Regions from separate parts of the Homo sapiens genome. Here region 2 is linked to region 1. Evidence: promoter capture Hi-C in human tissues and cell types (Jung and others, 2019). All regions are on one chromosome and are shown on one strand. The core of a region is centred on a gene start or on the middle of the fragment in contact, and the rest is flanking DNA. Distances in the headings are between cores, read along the strand shown. Region 1 holds the start of PPP6C (protein phosphatase 6 catalytic subunit). Region 2 overlaps PBX3 (PBX homeobox 3).

Region 1 (6,480 bases), core at 2,428-4,927:
TGTCTTCTTTTCTACAGAACAAATCTTTTCCATCTTGCTCATTAAGTGGCCTCAATGATTACTTTTCTTAATAGAATGTTTTATTTTGCCTTTACAGCCTCAGAAAAAGTACTCCTGGCATACTTTCTTGGCCTAATTTTAGGTTGCACTTCATGCCAAGAAACAGAAAAAAATTAAATTTCTTTAAATACACCAGAGATGAGCAACACAACAAATTAATCTGATAAAAGCATTTCCAAGACAGAAAAAAAAGTCTCTACCTATAAAGAAAAATTCAGAATACTTTTGTCTTGGTTGCCCAAAACATATATTTTTAAGTTTATTAAGAAATGGATACAGGCCAAGTATAGTGGCTCATGCCTGTTATCCCAGCATTTTGGGAAGCCAAGGTGGGAGGATCGCTTGAGCCCAGGAGTTCAAGACTGGCCTGGGTAACATAGCAAGACCCTGTCTCTACCAAAAAAATAAATAAAAATTAGCTGGTCATGGGGGCATGTGCCTGTGGTCCCAGCTTCTCAGGAGGCTAAGGTGGGAGGACTGCCTGAGCCCAGGAGGTCGAGGCTGCAATGAGCCATGATTGTGCCACCACACTACAGCATGGGTGAGAGTGAGACCATGTCCCCGCTCCCCCACCAAAAAAAAGATTAAAAATTTTTTTAAGAAAAAAAAAGAAACAAATACAAGTCAAGTACAATGCAGCTATGTTTCAACAAGAAATAAAATGGTCTAAAAATTGTACTTCCTTAAGGTAAGAAGGAAATCTAATGTTTATCAAACTAAGAGGTACAAAGAAGTCCAACAGATTTTTCTTTCTTTTTTTTTTTTTTTTTTTTTTTGGTGAGACGGAGTCTCCCTCTGTCACCCAGGCTGGACTGCAGTGGCGCAATCTTGGCTCACTGCAACCTCCGCCTCCCTGGTTCAAGCGATTCTCCTGCCTCAGCCTCCCAAGTAGCTGGGATTCCAAGCACCTGCCACCACCTCCAGTTTATTTTTGTATTTTTAGTACAGACGGGGTTTCACCATGTTGGCCAGGCTGGTCTCGAGCTCCTGACCTCAAGTGATCCACCTGCCTCAGCCACCCAAAGTGCTGGGATTACAGGCGTGAGCCACTGCACCTGGCCAGATTATCTTTCAAATCATTTCAGTGCCCAATTTCCTTTTCTTTTTTTTTGAGACAGAGTCTTGCTCTGTCTCCCAGGCTGGAGTACAGTGGTGTGATCCCGGCTCACTGCAAGCAATTCTCCCGGGTTCAAGCCATTCTCCCTGCCTCAGCCTCCCAAGTAAGTAAACTGGGATTACAGGCACCTACCACCATGCTCGGCTAATTTCTGTGTTTTTAGTAGAGAGGGGGTTTCACCAAGTCGGTCAGTCTGGTCTCAAACTCCTGATCTCAAATGATCTGCCCACCTCAGCCTCCCCAAGTACTGAGATTACGCCACTGTGCCCTAGACACATTTTCATAAAAAGCAACATTTTATTCATCATAAACACAAAGTTCAAAAAAGCTTTATGCATGATAAATAAGAAGAAAAAATTCCATGTCAATTCACTGACATGCAATAGTCAACCTCACCTATGGGATTAATAATGCTACTAAGAGGTCTGGTTAGTTTTCCATGAATTGGGTCCCAATGCTAGTTGTATTCTTATTCCCTTAAAAAAACCACATAGCAGAAAGAAGCCACAAAAGGAATGTCTGAAGGACTCAGATGAGCACAAATGCTACATTACTACTAACGAAGGCTGTCCTTATTTGAAATTATTCTATTAAAAACGGGAAAATGCACAAGAATGACTCCCCTATCATATGCCACATAAAATTAACAGGTAAGTACAATTCAGTCACATTCACAACAGCACGTGTGGCCTCAAATATTATGCATACTTGTTGACTGATGTTAAGTATCAACTTACTGTACAAAGAAGAAATAAAACAAAACCCACAGTAATATATTTCCTTAAGAATACACTGAGTCGGGGCTGGGCACGGTGGCTTACGCCTGTAATCCCAGCACTTTGGGAGGCCGAGGCGGGCGGATCACGAGTTCAGGAGATCGAGACCATCCTGGCTAACACGGTGAAACCCCGTCTCTACTAAAAATACAAAAAATTAGCCAGGCGTGGTGGCGGGCACCTGTAGTCCCAGCTACTCGGGAGACTGAGGCAGGAGAATGGCGTGAACCCGGGAGGCGGAGGTTGCAGTGAGCCGAGATGGTGCCACCGCACTCCGGCCTGGGCGACAGAGCGAGACTCCGTCTCAAAAAAAAAGAATACACTGAGTCGGTTAAATACTAGCACGAGCTGATAAGCACTGCTAGAAACCTAAGCTCTGATTTCAGCAAATGCATAGAAACACTTTTCAAAGAAGCAGTATACCTAGGCCGGCGCGGTGGCTCACGCCTGTAATACCAGCACTTTGGTAGGCCGAAGCGGGCGGATCACTTGAGGTCAGGAGTTCAAGACCAGCCTGGCCAACATGGCGAAACCCCGTCTCTACTAAAAATACAAAACAGCCGGGCGTCGTGACGGGCGCCTGTAATTCCACCTAGTCGGGAGGCTGAGGCAGGAGAATCGCTTGAACCCGGGAAGTGGAGGTTGCAGTGAGCCAAGATCGCACCGCTGCACTCCAGCCTGGGTGACAGAGTGAGACTCTATCTCAGTTAAAAACAATAATAATAATAATAATAATAATAATTAAAAAGTTTTAAAAAAGAAAAGCAGTATACCAAAGTCATTCCTTTACCCATACATACATTTACTCTTACTTGGACTCAGGAGTAACAAGGAACTCACCTCCTTTAGAAAACGAAGAAAATGAAATACTGAGTTAAGAAGGGGTTAAGGAGAAAGTATTTGTATTTATTGAGAACCAACTACTTTATCCACTTCAGTAAGCTCAACAACATACTCAGAAACGGGATTCACCTCTGAATTAGCAAAACCGACGATCCTAAAAAGCAATTTGGAGGAGTGGCAATGAAGAGGGACGACCTGACGTTCGCTCCCGCCAGTACCAAACCACTCGGGCCCACCGCCTTCCCCTTCCTCAGAGACCTAAACACACTGAGGCCGCGTTCCGGTAGCCGGTGGCATCTCCTGTCAGACGCCGGCCACTCCGCGCTCCTGTCACCTCCGGTGGAGGCGACCCCATCCCGAGGGCACTGCCGCGGGGGCTCGGCTCCGACTGCGGGAGACCCAGGGATGGGGTGGGGAGCCGAGCCTTCTAAATAAAGCTGTTACAGCTGCGGGTCCTGGGGCAGCCCGAAGGCCAGAAGGGGCGACCCTGGGACAGAGGCCGCGACATCCCTCGGGATCCCCACTGAGGCAACCGGGACAGCATTCGACGACTCGGCTCGCGAGACCCTCGGCGTGACGCCGGGTAGGACCGGGTCGACTGGCAATGGGGGAGGCCCTCCACCGCGACTGGACTGGATACCCGGCGGGGGTCCTGGAGAAAGGAAGGGCCGGCCGGCGGGCGCCCCACAGCCGGAAGGGGCGAGCCCGCAAATAGGGCTCACCTTCAGGTCGTTCTCTGGCAGGTACTTGCACAGCCGCGCTATTTCCACATACTTGTCCAGGTCTAGCGGCGCCATTTTAAGAATAACAAGCCGCGGCAACAGCGGCGGCGGCGGCTGTAGCAGCGGCGGCGGCAGCGGCGGAGGCCGAAGCCGGAACTTTCCCTGCGTCACGTCCGGCCCGTGAGTGGCGCCTGCGCAGCGCCGTTAAAGCGCGACCCGTTTCTCCCCGCTACGTCGGTACGCCCGGCGCCCCCTCTGGCTGAACCCCGACTGCAGGCCCCAAGAGAGCCCGCTTCGGTCCACCCCGCGAAACCTGCTGGGACCCGTAGTCGTCTGCCGCGGGGGTGCTGGGATGTGTAGTTTTCTGTTGTGGACAGCCACCCCTCTCTTTTCCTCCCGTTCCTCCAGACTTTCACCTCCCGGCAGCCGGCGAGGCTTTTCCGAGGCAAAACAGCGGAGTAGGTGGTCCTAGCCACTCACTGGTTTGTTTTTCCAACCCTTTTAAGCACTCTCCAGAATATCTTCACTTAACAATTGGGTAAGCCTGGCCGTAGTAACCGTTTGCACCTTTCCAAGTCCCTGTGAAAACCTCGCCTAAGCCTGTGGCAGAGATGTCAGGCCCCAGTCTTCCAGCCTGAAAGGAAGGGAAACGAATATTATTAAAGCATTTCTGATGCTAAATGCGATACAAATGATATTTTTCCTTTTAATCTTCGTAACGATTGATAGGAAAGTGAGGCTAGGAAACTGCAGTTCACCCCAAATCTCACAGGGAACAAAATGGTGGGGTCAAGATTGAAAAATGGCTTAAGCTTAAGCATGCTTCCAGTGAGAATCCCACGAGGGCAGGGAGTTTTTTGCTGTAACTCCAGCACCGAGAACAGTACCTGGTACTAGCATACCTTCAGCGTTCGTTTATCCAACCACTCTTTGCTGAGCAACAAAGATGTGCCAGGTACAGCTCAAGGCGCTTGCAGTACTTCGTGAACAAAATAGACAAAGATCTCTATTCTATCTGTAGCTACAAAAAGTACCAAAATTAGCCTGGCGCGGTAGTGCGTGCTTGTGGTCCCAGCTACTCTGGAGGCTGAGGCAGGAGAACCGCTTGAGTTGGGAGGCGGAGGTTGCAGTGAGCTGAGATCGCGGCACTGCACTCCAGCTTGGGCGACAGAGCGAGATCCTCCTCAAAAATAAATTAGTAAAAGGAGCTGCTGTATGGGACTAGGGGTGGGGGTGCAATGCCTATAGCTAAGAGACCAGTTAAGAGACTGTTATGTAATCCAATAGTAGCAGGCGCTCAATAAATATTTGTTGCTCAAGAGACCCTGGAATTAATCCTCTTGCTCTCTAAAGTATATTTTGTGGACAATTGGCTAACCCTGAATGAGATATCTGGGTGAACTTCTTTGTATTATTCTTGTAACTCCTCTGAAAGTATGAAATTGTTTCAAAGTAAAATTAATTTTTAGAAGTTTGTTGCAGAATGAATGATGCCCACAAGCATTCATTTCTTCATTCATTAAACTAATAGTTACATAGTGCCTATTGGCCAGGCCGCGGTGGCTAATGCCTGTAATCTCAGCACTTTGGGAGGCCAAGGCAGGCAGATCACCTGACGTCAGGAGTTCAAGACCAGCCTGGCCAACATGCCGAAACCCCATCTCTACTAAAAATACAAAATACTGGGGAGGCTGAGGCAGGAGGATCACTTGAATTGCTTGAGGCAGAGGTTGCAGTGAGCTGAGATGGCGCCACTGTACTCCAGCCTGGGCCACAGAGTGAAACTCCATCTCAAAGAGAAAAGAAACCAGAGGTTACACAGTGCTTATGATGTGAATAAAACAGATATGATCCCTGCCCTAATCAGGCTTACAATCTGCTGGGAAGAGACAAACAGTATTTATTTATTTATTTACATTTACTGGTTTATTATTAATATAAAGGATATTACAAAGGATACAAATGAAGAGATGCATAGGGTGAGGTAATTAAAATTTTTGTTTTTGTTGAGGCCGGGTGCAGTGGCTCAAACTTGTAATCCCAGTAGTGAAGCCAAGGTGAGCAGATATCTTGAGGCTAGGAATTCAAGACCATCCTGGCCAACATGGTGAAACCTGATCTCTACTAAAAATACAAAAATTAGCTGGGCATTGTAGCACATGCCTGTAATCCCAGCTACTCCGGAGTCTGAGGCATGAAAATTGCTTTGAGGTGGGGGTTACAGGGAGCTGAGGTCGTGCCACTGCACTCCAGCCTGGCCAACAGAAAAAAAAAAAAAATTGTTGAGGTGAGGTCTTGCTGAGGCTGGTTTTAAATTCCTGGCCTCAAGCTATTCCGCTGCTTTGGCCTCCCAAAGTGCTGGGATTATACGTGTAAGCCACCATACCTGGCAGTGAGCAAATATTTAATTGCAAATTGTGATTAGTACTCAAAAGGGAAAATAGGAGGTACTATAAGCAAGAAAAATGGAGTAGACGAGGTCTACCTTTGGCTGGGCACAGTGGCTCACGCCTGTAATCCCAGCATTTTGGGAGACCGAGGCGGGCAGGTCTTTTTGAGGTCAGGAGTTCCTGACCAGCTGAGATCCCACCACTGCACTCTAGCCTGGGAGAGAAAGTGAGACCCTGTCTAAAAAAAAAAAAAAAACAAAAAACTACATTTTCTTACCTGTACTTGTGTCCTTTGGGGGAAAAAAAAGGGCCCAGCATGGTGGCACACGCCTGTAATCCCAGCACTTTGGGAGGCCGAGGCGGACGGATCATGAGGTCAGGAGTTTGAGACCAGCCTGGTCAATATAGTGAAACCCTGTCTCTACTAAAAATACAAAAAATTAGCCGGGTATGGTGGTGTGTGCCTGTAATCTCAGCTACTTGGGAGGCTGAGGCAGGAGAATTGCGTGAACCTGGGAGATGGAGGTTGCGGTTGCAGTGAGCTGAGATAGCGTCATTGCACTCCAGCCCGG
Region 2 (6,480 bases), core at 1,202-3,701, 560 kb after region 1:
GTCTATTAAATATATATGCTAAACCATAATAAGCAGCAAATAATAAGGGAGGCCAAAGAGTACTTTTCCTGGTTTTCATTCACATATTATGGCTGGTTTCTTAATGCTCAGTGATCCTTTCTTGAATTACTAACTTTTATTTTGTGTTGATTTTTAGCTACCTTTAGAAAGCGTTTTGATTTAAAGCAGTAGATAATTTTTATCTGACTGTAAAATAAGACATCTAGCATTCAGTCTTGAAGATTCTTAGTTTAGAAGCTTAAAAGTATGCAATTCTCAGTAAATTCTGATGCTTAGTGTCCAAGGGTTTTCCTGCTATCAGGGCTCCACTTCAGTTTCTGCTGACAGCCAAGCACTGGGGTATTGACTATGTTGTGAATATTAAGATTGATTCGACTTTATACAGCCTTATATTACTAGGGAGAGGGGATGGATACTTATCGCTTCTCATCCCCTTCTCATTATTTGTATTTATTTATTTATTTTTGCCTTTTTAAAGTTTTGGCCTAGCTAGCTTGAGAACTAAACCCAGCAAACTGCTTTTCATGTTGAGACATTTAGCAGCAGGCAGAATTCAATTAGGAAGCATAAGTCCTTTAGTTGCTTATTTGCACAGGACTTAGTTACACCATTCTGAAAGGAAAGTATAGTCAACCACATGTCAAAGGTGAGTTACGAAAAAGAAACAAATCTTTTCAAAGTCTGGGATTACTGGCAGAGAGAGCTTTGGTAGGGCTATTGCTATTTAAAAACCAAGAGGCAGCTGACAAAAGAAATTTTTGTGTTTTAAAATTGTTTCTGGGGCTTTCAGTGATAACTTGTAAATTAGATTCTCTTTTTGTGCTTTGGCCAGTGGATCCACATTTGCACGTTATCTCTTTTGTAAAAAGCCAACAGCCGACAAAGAGTAAAGGCGGCTGTCTGGGTAGAGGCATCTTCCTGCTAGCCTCTCTAAGCTCGAGAGGGATGGGATTTAAGTACTGAGTGATTGATGGGGGTGAAGCTCTTTCTCTTCTTTCCATTCTCCCCTACTACCCATAGCTTCACCTCACTCTCCAAAACTAGTCTTAGAATGAGACAGGGACTCAGAATCCTCAATTCGAAATAAAACAGCTGTGTAGACATTAGTGTTACCAAAGCAAAGAAAGCGGGGCTGCAAATTCCAAGCCCCCCCACTCCTGCTTCCATAGTCGGTCATGCTTTAGAAACATGAACTTATAAAAGAAACATTGTAGAATATATGTATATTGCATAAATATTTTTTAAAAATCATTTTATTTAATCTAATAATACCTAAAAATTAATTCTTTGTAATTTAGAGAAAGTTTACCTAGTCATTTATGAATAGAAACCAGAAACATTATGTTGATGACTCTATTCTGCTTAATGAAGGGGGTTGAGGGTGAACTGTCATTTCAGTGGATAATGTCATTTCAGTTGTGCTTTTCTTCTAAAACAAAACAAAATCATTTTAAAAAAAATCTGTTTATTTGTAGCTCTGCCAGTGGATTTTGAGGTTTCTGATCAGGCAGTGAACACTGCCAGTTCTTATGCACATGGGGGATTTAGTTTAGAAAACATCTGTTTCCCCCTCTACCATATATGAAAAGGTATTTTTCCCTTCTGACAGATAAATGGGTAATCTACTACAATTATATTATTTTCTTGTTGAGAGGTAAGGAAAGTATACTTCTACTATAAGATGCTGCTTTTTCTTGAGAATATATTCTTTCGTAAAATTGATCATACCATTATTTTTGGGCAGAAATGTCTCTCATTGTTGAATTGTGATATTTGTGCATTTTGAGAGCACCCAAAAAGTTGTAGGCTTTAAAATAAAAATAGTTGTTTATTTTAAACCAAGTAACCAGTGAGATTATTGTTGATATGTTAAGATTTTTCTCCTGATTTTTAAAGCCATATTTTATCATCTGTCTCTTATTAAATATCCCTGATGCCACAAGGTCTGCTCACCTGCATACCTCTTTTGGTGTATGCCCCCACCTCTTTTTGGTCATCTTAATCTTAATTGTTGAAGTGCTTTCCTTTGTGAAATATTTCATCCTGAAAAATCTTGTCTTCTTTCCAAAGCCCTTAATTGTGCGAGTTTAAGTGAAGGAAATAGTTCTTTTTCAAGAAAAAAATATTTATTTTTTAAATGAAATCCCACATTTTAGTAGATAATATGAATCACATTATTGTGAAAAATGTTATGCATGAAAAAAAATAAACACAACCTTTTCCTTTTCAAATAATAGGTTAAAATACTCCATGTTGATGGCTGCCAACCAAACTCTGATTTATTGCCACCACAAACCCTAAATAGCGTTCATTTACTAGTAATGTCTAATGGCATACATGATGGTTTGCCAGATTTGTAGCCTTTGTGAGGCTTATAAGTAGGACTGACTTGGGAAGATCATAAAACTTAATGAACTTCTCTACTGCAGGAGGTGTCCGCAGGGGAAGAGAAAGGCCTGCTTGGTTGGTTGGGCTGGTTGAAGTATTTTTTATGTTTAAGGAGAAGAAAATGACTAGTAAAAATGCCTTACTTTTAAAGGAACCCTCCCTAGAAAGAGTCATAAGAATTTTAGATATTAAAACTAGATCAAGAGTATAGTTTACAAGTGAGGTTTTATGTGCATTTAGTATATGATGTGAGATTAAACCTTTTATCTTTATTGCTAGAAGTGTGACTAGCTTTCAAAGAGACAAGGCAGTACTGTCATTCGACACCTCTCTATTTAATTGTGAACCCACAGGTTTAGAGACTCTTTGGAGTCTTTTTTTGGTGTGCTTCTCTTTTTAAGGTTTCAATATAAAAATCTGTTACATTTTTCTTTGTACAGTGCTGTGTGATTCTTTTAATTCTACATATGTAAAAATCAATTTTTTCAAGTGAAAATTTAGCAAGAAAGGTGAAAATTGTTATATATTAGTCTAAATGTTATTATATATTTTGCATATGCTTTTAAGTTGCTCTTGCACTATTTCCAATATAATTATCATCTTTTGTTTCAAGTTTTAAAAACAAATGCACTGTTCCATACATGATTCCTTTTTGTGTTTTCATGAAACACATTTTGTTTTAATGAACTTATTTTCAAGATTTTAACAACTTTTTATTGTGGACACCTTTGAAACATAACATGCAGAGAGCAGAGACTCTTGAACCTCCCATGAACTCAGTGCCCATCTTCAGCAATTAGCAATACTTGGCCAGTCGTGTTTTCTCTGTAATTCCCACCATTCCAAAATTATTTTGAAGCAAATTTTAATGGTTCTTTAATGTTTTAAGTTTCATATCAATTTTAAGCATTAGGTCTGCTTATATTGGAAATATTAAGTGATTAAACAGGAAAAATACAAAGTCAGAGTATCTTGGAAATGTTATAAATTATATTGCTTTATCAATATATTTTTCTTAACTTAATATTTTACCTTTTTTTTTTTCTATTTTTATAGATTTGGTATCTTACTGGAGCTTTTGTAGGAGGTTTTCAGAGAAGTTGTAAAAGAAAGGGATTTTTCTACTTCTTTATTCTTCCATTTCCATCCTAACAAAATAGCACATATAATACATTTGTAGAAAACCTGGAGAAAAATCTCATTGCCAAGCTGGTTTAGAACCTCATGATCTAAAGTATCATGTGGATATTATCTTTAAAATATAGAGACATTTTCCAATCCTGTTCTTTATTTTTTTCTTCCCAATAAAAATGTATTGAACTCTCTTGTCAATACTAACTTGATCTGTGCAAGTAATTCTTTTGTTCCTTAGTTTTAATGACCCTCATTTTATTACAGATTTGAATAGTTTTGGTATTTTATTTGGGACTTTACTATGTTATTTTATTAATTTACATAATTTTATTCTGAATTAGAAGTCTTTTAATACACTAGCAAAGGAGGCCCCGACTTGCCCCAAAGAGCACACTGGTTGATCGGCTTTCATAAAATGTACTTGTCTACATTTTTCATACTATGATGCTTTTCCTTTTAATTAATTTTGCCTGTATATTTCCATCTCAATTTATAAATTTTGTAAAAGGTTACTTCTGAGGCAAATTTAAATTAACGTATTAGTTGGATTATTTATATTTTGATACTTTATAGTGGCATGGTATAGGATGAAGTTACATTATATGAAGTGGGACTATAAGAATTGAAACTGCATTTCGTGAACCACACCCTAAGTCAGTCATCACTTTATTTTGTACTCTACCCTGAGGTATCTATTTAGAATAAATGCTTAACACATCAGCACTAACACATCAAGTTATATAAGGTTTTAGATTATCTTTTCCCTATTCGTGTTTGTGAACATCTTTAGATATTTATTAGTTCAATATTGACATTATGAGAATAATGTTTTGTTTTCTCAGCAGTCTTGTGTTTTAGCCATTTATCAGTGTGATCAGCATGATTTAGGTATTAACTGACTAACAAAGCTTACACATTACCACCACCTCCCCCTCAAGCCCGTGTTGACCTTTTCAAGCATTTGCTCTACTTCAGTAGGCCATTTGAGTCTTCAAGTATGAAGAGAGTAAATAATTTATATCACTATGTAGTATAAATTGGTAAAAGTTTTTCAGAACTAGCTATCTGATTTTTTACAAAGTTATTGAAGTTAATCAGACAAATTGCTATCACATCTAGTTGACAGTGCTATATTTAGCAAATAATAAGTAATTCTTGAATGAGCTACTGAAAAAATAAACCACCTTTTTATGCCTTCAAACTCAGAACATATTAAAAAATAAATTTCATTAATCTTCAACACTTGATTCTAATTATCCCTTTTGTAGGCAGAATTGCAACAAGAATTTCTTCTGTATTATTTTTTCATAGATATATTCCATAGTATAATATGTTTGTAGGTTTTAATGGTAACTAGTTTACTTTGGCACTAAATTTGAGTGTATATCTAGCAAAAAAATTGGTGTGATAGAATGTATCAAACTGAATTGGCGTAACTTTTTTTGTATAACTGTCTACGTAATAGTAACAGGTTAGTATGAAAGCAATTAAAAATATTTATGGATAAAAATAATTGTTAAAAGTTTTCTACTTCTTTCAACTTAAGTGCTTTAAAAATGTTAAGCTGTTTAGACAATAACTCTTTTTTAGTGATCATATTAATGAGGACTTGGTATACAATGTAATCCTTTTAATGCTGATGAGTCCTCACAATGTTTAAACCATTATTTGTGAGACTCAACATGTTATGGCAAAATGATTTTTTGTTTGTTTTGTTTTCTTTTATGTGATACATCAGTTTTCAAAGCATATTTCTTAGGCTTCAGAGTCCAGCAGGTGGCTTTTTACATTAAAAAATTCATAAATTTTAAAATCCCATAAAATTTTATTTCAAATTCAAATTAACTAATTGAGAATGTCAACATTTTCACTGTCTCTATATTAACATTTATAATAGAACAAATGGTTGCATATAGAAATTATCTGCAACAGTCTAAATTAAGATTCTAAACAGGCATTACAGATGCTGGTAACTTTGGCAATTATCATTTTGTTTGGTGAACAGTAGTAAAACAGTGTGCGGTAAAAGTGTTTAGAGAGAGAGGATAAATAAATTGAACAGTTTTGCAATGCAAAGTGGTTTGTGGTGTTTTTGAGGATTTCTTGGCTCTCTCTTAACTGCTATTGTGAGCCTGGAGCAGATTTCCCCATTGCTAATGCCCTAGAAGTATTAATTCACTTTGATATGCTAATTAGAGGGCATTATGCAAGAAATGAGATTAAGTGGCAGCATGAAGCCATTTGCCTGTCAGTAAATTGAGAGCTTTAGCATCAGGAGGAGCTTTGTTTTTTTTTTTTTTTTTTTTTTGAGTTTCTCTTGGTTTTGCATATAAATAAAATTGATTGAAAGGTCTAGAGAAGCTTCCAGAACATTGGTGGATTCTTTTTTCCCCCTCCTATGATTATTTAAATGAAATGTTACAGGATTTTTCTGAATATTAATTGACCTAATTGGAGATACTGAATATAAAGTTTTTATTGTAATGTTTCTGTATAAAAATATACTAAAATTTTTGTGTCACCTAGTCTTTTTTTTCCTAAAACATAATTTCATTAACATGGCTAATGAACTGTTTATCACTTATCTCTTCTCAGAAGTGTAAACTTCTGTGTATGGGCTTGTGCACCAATGTCACTAAATTGAACTTCACAAGGATATTTTCTTCACTAGGGAAGGAAGGAAGAAGTTGAATTGGGCTTCAGAAAACTATATTAAATGAGTATTAACATTCTGACTTGAATCCATAAAAGCTGTAACAATTATAATTCATGGTTAAACTGCCCTTTATACAACCTGTGGAATTTATATTTCAGCATATATCTTATAGGTAAGATTACTGATGACATTTTGTGTGGAAGATGGAATTTCATACTGGATTCAGATTTTGTTGACTTTTGTGGCCTAAGCTAGGCCTCTGAATTTTTCTCTATAAAGCT

Evidence for each region. Contacts are between HindIII fragments. The study calls those that stand out against the background at their distance.
Region 2: a fragment that was not itself captured here is called in contact with the fragment with the promoter of PPP6C in region 1 in 1 of the 25 tissues and cell types used here (dorsolateral prefrontal cortex).

The regions. Positions count from the first base shown.
Region 1 is chr9:125,186,126-125,192,605 of GRCh38, forward strand. It overlaps PPP6C (protein phosphatase 6 catalytic subunit), which reads right to left and starts at 3,678. Exons shown (of 7, transcript NM_002721.5): 1 at 3,519-3,678. The coding sequence starts at 3,593. RefSeq lists enhancers at 3,000-3,786, 3,787-4,573, 3,876-3,955. The HindIII fragment of the contact is 9,567 bases long and covers 1-6,480 here.
Region 2 is chr9:125,749,844-125,756,323 of GRCh38, forward strand. All of the region lies in intron 2 of PBX3 (PBX homeobox 3), which reads left to right. Among named protein-coding and RNA genes, the nearest start is that of PBX3, 5.7 kb to the left of the region's middle. RefSeq lists an enhancer at 4,812-6,250. The HindIII fragment of the contact is 5,452 bases long and covers 1-5,177 here.